Linked DNA regions of Homo sapiens: region 2 is linked to region 1. The links are contacts of gene promoters, found by promoter capture Hi-C in human tissues and cell types (Jung and others, 2019). All regions are on one chromosome and are shown on one strand. Each heading gives the region's core, a stretch centred on a gene start or on the middle of the fragment in contact. The rest is flanking DNA. Distances are from core to core; before and after follow the strand shown.

Region 1 (3,976 bases), core at 616-3,115:
AAAGAAGAGAGAGAAAAAGGGGGTCTGAGAGACTGACTCAGACAGCTACCATGAGGATCAAAATCATGAAAACCAAGACAGGAGGAGGCGGGCTTCCTACCTCACATTTGAAGGGCCGTTCTGTTGAGTGCACTTGTCTGACGTGACTGTTGAGGTGATCCGGCCTGGGGACACGTTGGGGTTGGGGTTAGGGCGGAGGTGGTGCGCCCCAAATCCACCAAACCGCACCACAGGCCTTTCCGAGGATCCCTGCGCCTCCTCCCGGAGCCCAGGCCGTCACAGCGACACTTAAGCAGGAAATCCCTCCCCTGGAGCCCAGCAGCCGCTGCCGCCGCCGCCGCCTCCTCCCACGCGAAGCTTCCGTCAACCCCAAGGCCCACCTCCTCGACAAAGGACCACCCCTTGCTCCCTGGTAACCGGGAGAGGCTTCCTCCCTCCGCCCTGGGAGTGGCTCCCCTTCCCCAGCCTCAGCAGCCGCCTCCCTCCCCGCCAGCCACGGCCAGGCCACCTCCGTCGCGTCCCTCCCTCCCCACGGCCTAGCGGGCGGCCGAGGCCCCGTGCACACCGGGAGAAGCTCTTGCCACAGTGGGAGCAGTTGTAGGGCTTGTGCACAGCGCCGTCATGTGAGCGCACGTGGTAGCTCATGCGGTCCTTGCGCTTGAAGCGCTGCTGGCACACCGGGCACTGGTAGGGCTTCTCGTCCGAGTGCGACAGCTTGTGTCGGTTCAGGTGGTAGACGTCGCGGAAGGCCTTGCCACACATCTCGCAGGCATGGTTCTTCCGGATGCGCTTCCCCGAGGCGGTCGTGGTCACCACGCCACCGGCGGCCACTGCGGCAGCGCCGCCGCCGGCACCCGCCTCTCCCCCTCCCCCGCCGGCTCCGCTCAGCTGGGGCACGCTCAGGAGGCTCAGGGGCACCATGGTCGGCATCTTCATAGCACCCGAGGGGACCCGGCCGGCCTTGGCTCCCGTGTGGATGGCTTCGTGCCTCCGGAGATTGTAGCCGTTCTTGAACTCCTTGGCGCACAGAGCGCAGATGTAGGGCCCCTTGCTCTTTGTCTTCTTCTCCAAGGCAGACGCGACCGGGGCCACGGCGACCGTCGAGGTTGGGGCTACGACGGCGGTGGCCGCCGCCGCGGCGATAGTGGCGGCGGAGGCGGGGGGCGCGGCCTCGGCCGCGGGCGCCGACACTGGCGGGGGTGGCGGAGGGGGCGCCGGAGGCTGCTTCAGGGCCGCTGTGTCCACCGTAGAGGCGGCGGCAGGGGCCGGGGGCGCGGCAGCGACGGCGGCAGCAGCGGCGGCAGCGGCCGCAGCAGCCGCGGCGGACTCCTGGGCGGCGGCGAGCACCGGGAGCAAGTCCACCTGGAGGGGCTCGGCCGCCGGGGCCTGGGGCGTGGGCGGGGGCGCCGGCGCGGCCTGCGGAGACAAGGCGCCGAGTGGGCCGCGGGTGCGGGCGGGCGTCCCCCCCCAGCCCGGGCCGCCGCGGCCGGCCCTACTCACCTGGAATGGACTCTGGGCGCAGCCCTGGGAGGCAAAGAAGCGGGACTGGAGCTCAGCCCCGACCTGCAGGGGGTTCTGGGCGTGACCCTGAGGTGGCGGGAAGGAGTTCATGAGGCCGCCCACCCCCCGGGAGTCCAGGCCCAGCACGGGGAAGGGGGGGGCCAGCAGCGTGCAAGGAAACACCGGGAACATGGCCTCGGCCGCAGCGGGGCCCCCGGGGCTCAGCGGGGGCCGGGGGCGCGGGCCGCGCGGGGCCCGGGCTCGGGGCGCCGCCCCCGGCCGGCCGGGCTGGGCCGCGCCGAACGCATGGCCCGCGGGCCGCCCCGCCGCCCGCGCACCCCGGCCGGCGGGAGGGAGGAAAAGAGGGCGCCTTGCGGGCCGCGGAGCGCCGCGGCGACGGCGGCGGCGACGCCCCCTGGGTGGGGGCGGGAGGCCCCGCGGGGCCGGGGCCGGGGGCGGGGGCCCGGGCGGCGGCGGCGGCGGCGGCGGCGGTTGGAGCCTGGCGGGGCGGGGTGGGGGGAGCGAGGGAGCAGCCTCGGCCCCCGCCGCGCGCGCGCCCAGCCGGCGCCTCGGGGAGGGCGGGGGAGGGCGCGAGGGAGGGAGGGGGACAGCTGCGCGCGCACCGGGCGCGCGGAGGGGGGGTGGGACGGGAGGGAGGGCGGGCAGGAGGGGGTGTGGGCAGGGGGGTGGGGGCGGGGGGAGGGAGTTGTTACCTGGAAGATGAAGCTGCTCCAGTTGCTGGGATCCATGGCGGAGGGAGGGAGGGAGGTGGCTCGCGCTCACCCTGGGGCGGGAGGAGGAGGCGGCGGCGGTGGGGGAGGGGGAACCCGGGAGGAGGCGCGCGGGGCGGGCAGGAGGGGGGAGGTGGAGGGTGGGGGAAGCGGAGCACACTACGCGCGGGGAGGGCGGGCGGGGGGCGCGAGGACACACAAGAGGCTGGAGCGGGCGCGAGCGCTAGCGCGAGCGCGCGCGTGGCCAGCGGGAGGGGCAGGCGCGAGAGGGACTCTGGCGGGAGGAGGGACGGGGGAGCCACCCAGCAGCCCGAGTCGCCCCGAGCGCGAGACCCCTGAGACGGCTGCTGATTGGCTGACGATGGCGCAGGTGGTGGGCGCGCGGGAGACAGGGCGGCTTCTCTCCTCTTCCCCCCGCCAACGATTCCACTCCCCCTCCCTCCGCCAGCGGCCGTTATTTCGCGCGCACGCGCACAAGGCCGCCGTCGTTGCCGAGCGGGAGAATGGGGGAGCGCGCGCGCCGGGGGCACGGACGGGGCGGGGCTAATCCCTGAGCGCGCGCCCGCCTAACGGTCGCAGGCCTCATGCTTCGGCTTCCGCTTTTTGCGTCCTGCAGGCCACCGTCCTCCCCGCCCCACCCCAGCGGTGTATTTACAATCCTGCGCTGAGTCGTTCCCCGAAGATGGCGCCCAGTGGAGTCGCCTGCCTTGCTCGCGGCCCACCCCGAGGCGGTCACACCCCGGTCCCGCCCCCGCAGCCCCAAAAATCAGGCGGAAGCACCGGAGCAAAAACTGTATTTACACAACACGGGGTTATACAAAAATTTGAAAAGGCGGAGTGAGGAGACGACGGTCAGGAGGCGCCACAGCGCTGGCCGGCGGCGAGACCCAGGATGTTTGCCTGCAACACAGGAGGGAGGGAGACAGCGACGTTAGAGAGGGGCGCGGGGCGCAGGACAGGCAGAGGAGGGGCAGGGCCGTGACTTCACCTTCAGGAAGGACTCCATCTGTTTCCCCGTTATGCCCTCCACGCGTTCCAGGTCCTCCACCTGGCGGGACAGGATCGATAGGGGACAGGGTCTCGGGGGTACCCGGTCTCCCCCGCCCCCGCCCTCCCCCAGTCCAGTGGGCTGCTACCTGGCTGAAGGGGCCGTGGAGCTCCCGCCAGCCCACGATTAGCTGGGCCTTCTTCGGGCCAATGCGCTGAAGACTGCGGAGATCTCGGGCTGAGCCTTCGTTCAGCAGATCCAGTATTTTTTGGCGCCCATGAGCCAGTAGCTCCGGGCTGATCTGTAGCTCCCAGCAGTCCTCAGCCTTCTCCTCAGGCTCTAGGGCATCCAGGGACTCCAGCTGGGAGGCAAAGGGAGATGAGTGACACGCAGGGCAGCCAAGTGCTTTGGGCTCCTCTGCCAAGACTAGGAGCCCAGCACCAGCTACCTCCTGCGCTCCAGCCTCTTCCTCTCTTGTCAAGTGTGTCCAAAATCCCGCCCTCAGGTCACTCTCTGGGTTAATTCTTATTATGCAACTAGTGAAAGAGAGGTACTACTCAGTACCCAGTGGTAATATTAGCACCCTTCTCATGGAGTTGCTGTGGAGATCAAGTGAGTTAATGAATGTAAAGCACAAAATAAGCTCTTAAATCTGGTCCCTCATCTCTAAAAGGGAAAGAATAAGCTGTCTTTCAAAAAGTACATGGGAGAAAGTAATATGAATAAATGATACCTCCCCCAACCATCTCAGTTTTTG
Region 2 (3,996 bases), core at 91-2,590, 600 kb before region 1:
AGTCCCAGCTACTTGGGAGGCTGAGGTGGGAGGATCACCTGAGCCCAGGGAAGTCAAGGCTGCAGTGAGCTGTACTGCACTACAGCTTGGGTGACTGAATGAGACCCTGTCTCAAACAATAACAACAGTAATAATAAAAGAGCCATTTCCTCTGACTGGGTCCATCACCCCACTTCTGACCCCAGACTCCTACTAGTCTCACATAAGCCATCCTTTTACTTTGAGACCTGTGGCCAGTTACCAAACTGCCCTGGGCCTCAGTCTCCTCATCTGTAAAATGGAATAAATGCTACCGACATCATAGAATCGAGGTGCTTAGAACAGTGCCTGGCACATAGAAAATGCTAGGCAAGGGTTAGCTATTGTTACTGTTGCTGTTGAACTAACCTGACCTTTCCCCAACCTCTAAATCTGAGTTAAGTTCCCACTTCTAGGCTTCATCATCCCCCTGTACCTGCAGCCATCACACGGGATTCTAACTGTGTGGTTACCCTTCAGTCTAACATCAAGCTCCATGGGGGATCCAAGGACGGAGTTTAATCTCCTGCACCCAGCAGGAAGCCTGGGACAGTAGGCGTGACTTTTGTATGATGGAAGCCCAGGCAGTAGGGCAGAAGGATGGGCCAATCCTGAGGTTTTAGATCCGAGATTCTGGGAAAAGTAGGGGCAAGATCCCTGGCTTCTATCTGAGGGAGGCTGGGCCTGGACCAGGTTTGGGGACAGTGTGCCCCAGGGTGTGTGTGACACATACCTCCTTGTTGTCCATGGGGATCTTGAGTTTCACCACCTCATACTTCTCCTCACCCTCATCCTCCTCACCCTTCACCAGCAGCACCATCTCCTCCTGCATCTCTTCCTCCTCCTCTTCCTCTGCCTGCTGTTCGCCAGGCATCTTGGTGTCCTGAGGCGGGGAGCTGGATCAGAAGCTCAGGACCCGCCCCCCCCCACCCCCCCCCCCGCCCACCGTGGCCCTGGCCCAGCAAGGCAGTGCAGCCGTGGCTTCTCCCGCCCTGCCCTGGTCTCCGAATCTGGTCCTCTCCCGTCCACCCCAGCCCGGCCCCACGCTCTGGCACAGCCCCGGGACCAGCTCCGAGGGCTCGCGTTCACCCCACTCATCCCAGCATTCAAGGCCTTGAACAGTTCGAATCTCCAGCCCCCGCAAGTCGCCACCATCCTTGCGCTGAGTCACTCCCCAGGGCCCGGGTCGGCGACCTGGAGCTCTGGGGCACGGGCTGGAGGCGGGATCGGGGCGGAAACCCCGGGGAGGGGGTGCGCACTCACCAGCCGAAGGTTCGGCACTCGCGGTGCCCCAGGCCTGGGCGCCGGGCGGCTGGGCACTCAGCGAGGCCGCGGCTCCGGGGGCGGGGAGGGGGCGGGACCGCAGGGACGGCCGGTCATTGGTCCGAACATATAGCCCCACCCCCTGGGGCGGAGCCCGAAGGACCCAGGCGTCCGGCCCAAACGGCTCGGAGAGGGCGGCGAGCTCAGACTTGGCGTCCTCCGCAGTCCCCCGACTCCCAAGCACCTGGAGCCGCCCCAGCCCGGCGTTCAAGGTCCTTGCCGCCGAGTTCCAACCTAACCTCGCGGCCCGTCTCCTGGGGCCGGCTTGGAGGTCTCCGCTGCGCCCAGTGCCTCTGCTCCGCCCGAAATAGGCCACGTGCGCTCCCGCCCCGGCCTGGGCCTCTCCCTGGCGCCCCGCCTGGAGGGCGGACCCTGTTGCCTCCTCACTTCTTCCATTCCCTCTTTATCTCCTCTGCCGTCTTTTCTCCATCTTTCTCGGCTTCGCCTATTCCGCTGGCCTCTGGGATATCCTTGAATACATCCTAACCAATTCAACATCCACCCAAGCTACCGCTGTCGCGTCATGCGTGGGGTGCTTACCATGCGCCAGCGCTGTTCAGCGTCTTACATACCTGGTCTCATTTGATCCGCATAACGATGGGTCCTGATCCATTTTACAGATGAGCTCACTGAAGTTCAGGGAGGTAAACTGATTTGCCTAAGTTACACGATAAGGATGTCATAGCATCCCTGACAATCAGTAGCCTAGGTGAACAACAGCCCAAAGCTAAATCCAGTCCACAGGGGTACCTTGTTTGGCCCTTAGGGTATTTTTACTTTTAAAAAATCTTTTCGGACGGGCACGGCGGCTCACGCCTGTAATCCCAGCACTTTAGGAGGCCGAGGCGGGCGGATCACGAGGTCAGGAGATAGAGACCATCCTGGCTAACACGGTGAAACCCCGACTCTACTAAACAAAATACAAAAAATTAGCTGGGCGTGGTGGCGGGCACCTGTAGTGCCAGCTACTCGGGAGGCTGAGACAGGAGAATGGCGTGAACCCGGGAGGCGAGCTTGCAGTTAGCCGAGATCGCGCCACTGCGCTCCAGCCTGGGCGACAGAGCGAGACTCCGTCTCAAAAAAAAAAAAAAAAAAAAAAAAAAAAAATCGTTTCAAAGCCGGGCGCGGTGGCTCATGCCTGTAATCCCAGCACTTTGGGAGGCGGAGGCCGGTGGATCACTTGAGGTCAGGATTTCGAGACCAGCCTAACCAACATGGTGAAACCCCGTCTCTACTAAAAATACAAAAATTAGCCAAGCTTGGTGGTGCATGCCTGTAATCCCAGCTACTCGAGAGGCTGAGGCACGAGAATTGCTTGAACTGGGGAGGCAGTGGTTGCAGTGAGCCGAGATCATGCCATTGGTCTCCAGCCTAGGCAACAAGAGCGAAACTCCGTCTCAAGAAAAAAAAAATTAAATTGGGATATTTCATATAAAAATAGATTTTTTTTTAGTGGAATAAACAAATGCCACTTCCTTTGAAAAACAGCCACTTCCCTTGAAAAAGCAGATATCTAATTTTCCCATTTTATGAATGGGGCAACTAAGATTCAGAAATCATGAAGGAAAACAGAAATAACATTCAGTAAGTGCTTACAAGTTCTATGTTGTCTCTTTACAACAGCCCTGTTGGGATCAATAATATCTCCATTGGACAAAAGAAGAAACGGAAGCTTAGACAAGTTAAGTAATTTGCTCAAAGTCACACAGCTGGCAAGCAGCAGATTCAAAGCTTGTGCTCTTCTATTGCACCAAATTACCTCTCAGGAATGAAGTTATAAAACTGGCTCTTTCCCAGAGCTGGGAGAAGGGGTCAAATGCCTGGATACTCACACACAGGATCCCCAAAAGCCACTTTGCATTCATTCTCTGAGTTTTTTTTTTTTTTTTTTTTTTTTTTTGAGATGGAGTCTTGCTCTGTCGCCCAGGTTGGAGTGCAATAGCACAGTCTAGGCTCACTGCAACCTCCGCTTCCCAGGTTCAAGTGATTCTCCTGCCTCAGCCTCCCAAGTAGCTAGGATTACAGGCACACACCACCACACCGGGCTATTTTTGTATTTTTTGTAGAGACGGGGTTTCACCATCTTGGCCAGGCTGGTCTCAAACCCCTGACCTCGTGATCCACCCACCTTGGCCTCCCAAAGTGCTGGAATTACAGGCTTGAGCCACCACGCCTGGCCTCTCTGGGTATTTATTGAGTCCTATATACCCGTCACCCTTCTAGGTATGGGGGATGTAGTAGTGAACAAAACAGATAAAAATAGTGGCTCTTGTGACACTACTAAGGGTGCAAACAAATGTACACATGTAAAGAGGAAGATAATATCAGATAATGATAGGTGCAACGGGGCAAATCTGACAAGATGATCCAACAGGGAGCAGCTATGGTAACAGGGGCTTCTTTAATGCAGGCAGGGAAGGTGTCTCAGGATACAATTTTTTTTTTTTTTTTGAGATGGAGTCTCATTCTATCACCCAGGCTGGAGTGCAGTGGCATGATCTCAGCTCACTGCAACCTCCACCTCCCGGGTTCAAGGGATTCTCCTGCCTCAGCCTCCCGAGTAGCTGAGATTACAGGTGCGCGCCATACACTCAGCTAATTTTTTTTTTTTTTTGAGGCGGAGTCTTGCTCCGTCTCCCAGGCTGGAGTGCAGTG

The links. Contacts are between HindIII fragments. The study calls those that stand out against the background at their distance.
Region 2: a contact is called between the fragment with the promoter of ZNF771 here and the fragment with the promoter of MAZ in region 1, in 1 of the 25 tissues and cell types used here (small bowel).

Annotation. Positions count from the first base shown.
Region 1 is chr16:29,804,418-29,808,393 of GRCh38, reverse strand. MAZ (MYC associated zinc finger protein) reads right to left here and starts at 1,865. Exons shown (of 5, transcript NM_002383.4): 1 at 1,501-1,865; 2 at 566-1,416; 3 at 101-164. The coding sequence starts at 1,692. KIF22 (kinesin family member 22) reads right to left here. Exons shown (of 14, transcript NM_007317.3): 12 at 3,368-3,580; 13 at 3,220-3,279; 14 at 3,010-3,131. The coding sequence ends at 3,084. RefSeq lists enhancers at 75-314, 2,885-2,934 and silencers at 395-1,064, 1,965-2,104, 2,235-2,574, 3,315-3,364. The HindIII fragment of the contact is 10,316 bases long and covers 1-3,976 here.
Region 2 is chr16:30,404,950-30,408,945 of GRCh38, reverse strand. ZNF771 (zinc finger protein 771) reads right to left here and starts at 1,340. Exons shown (of 3, transcript NM_001142305.2): 1 at 1,282-1,340; 2 at 752-901. The coding sequence starts at 892. RefSeq lists silencers at 1,205-1,414, 1,437-1,616. The HindIII fragment of the contact is 10,608 bases long and covers 1-2,806 here.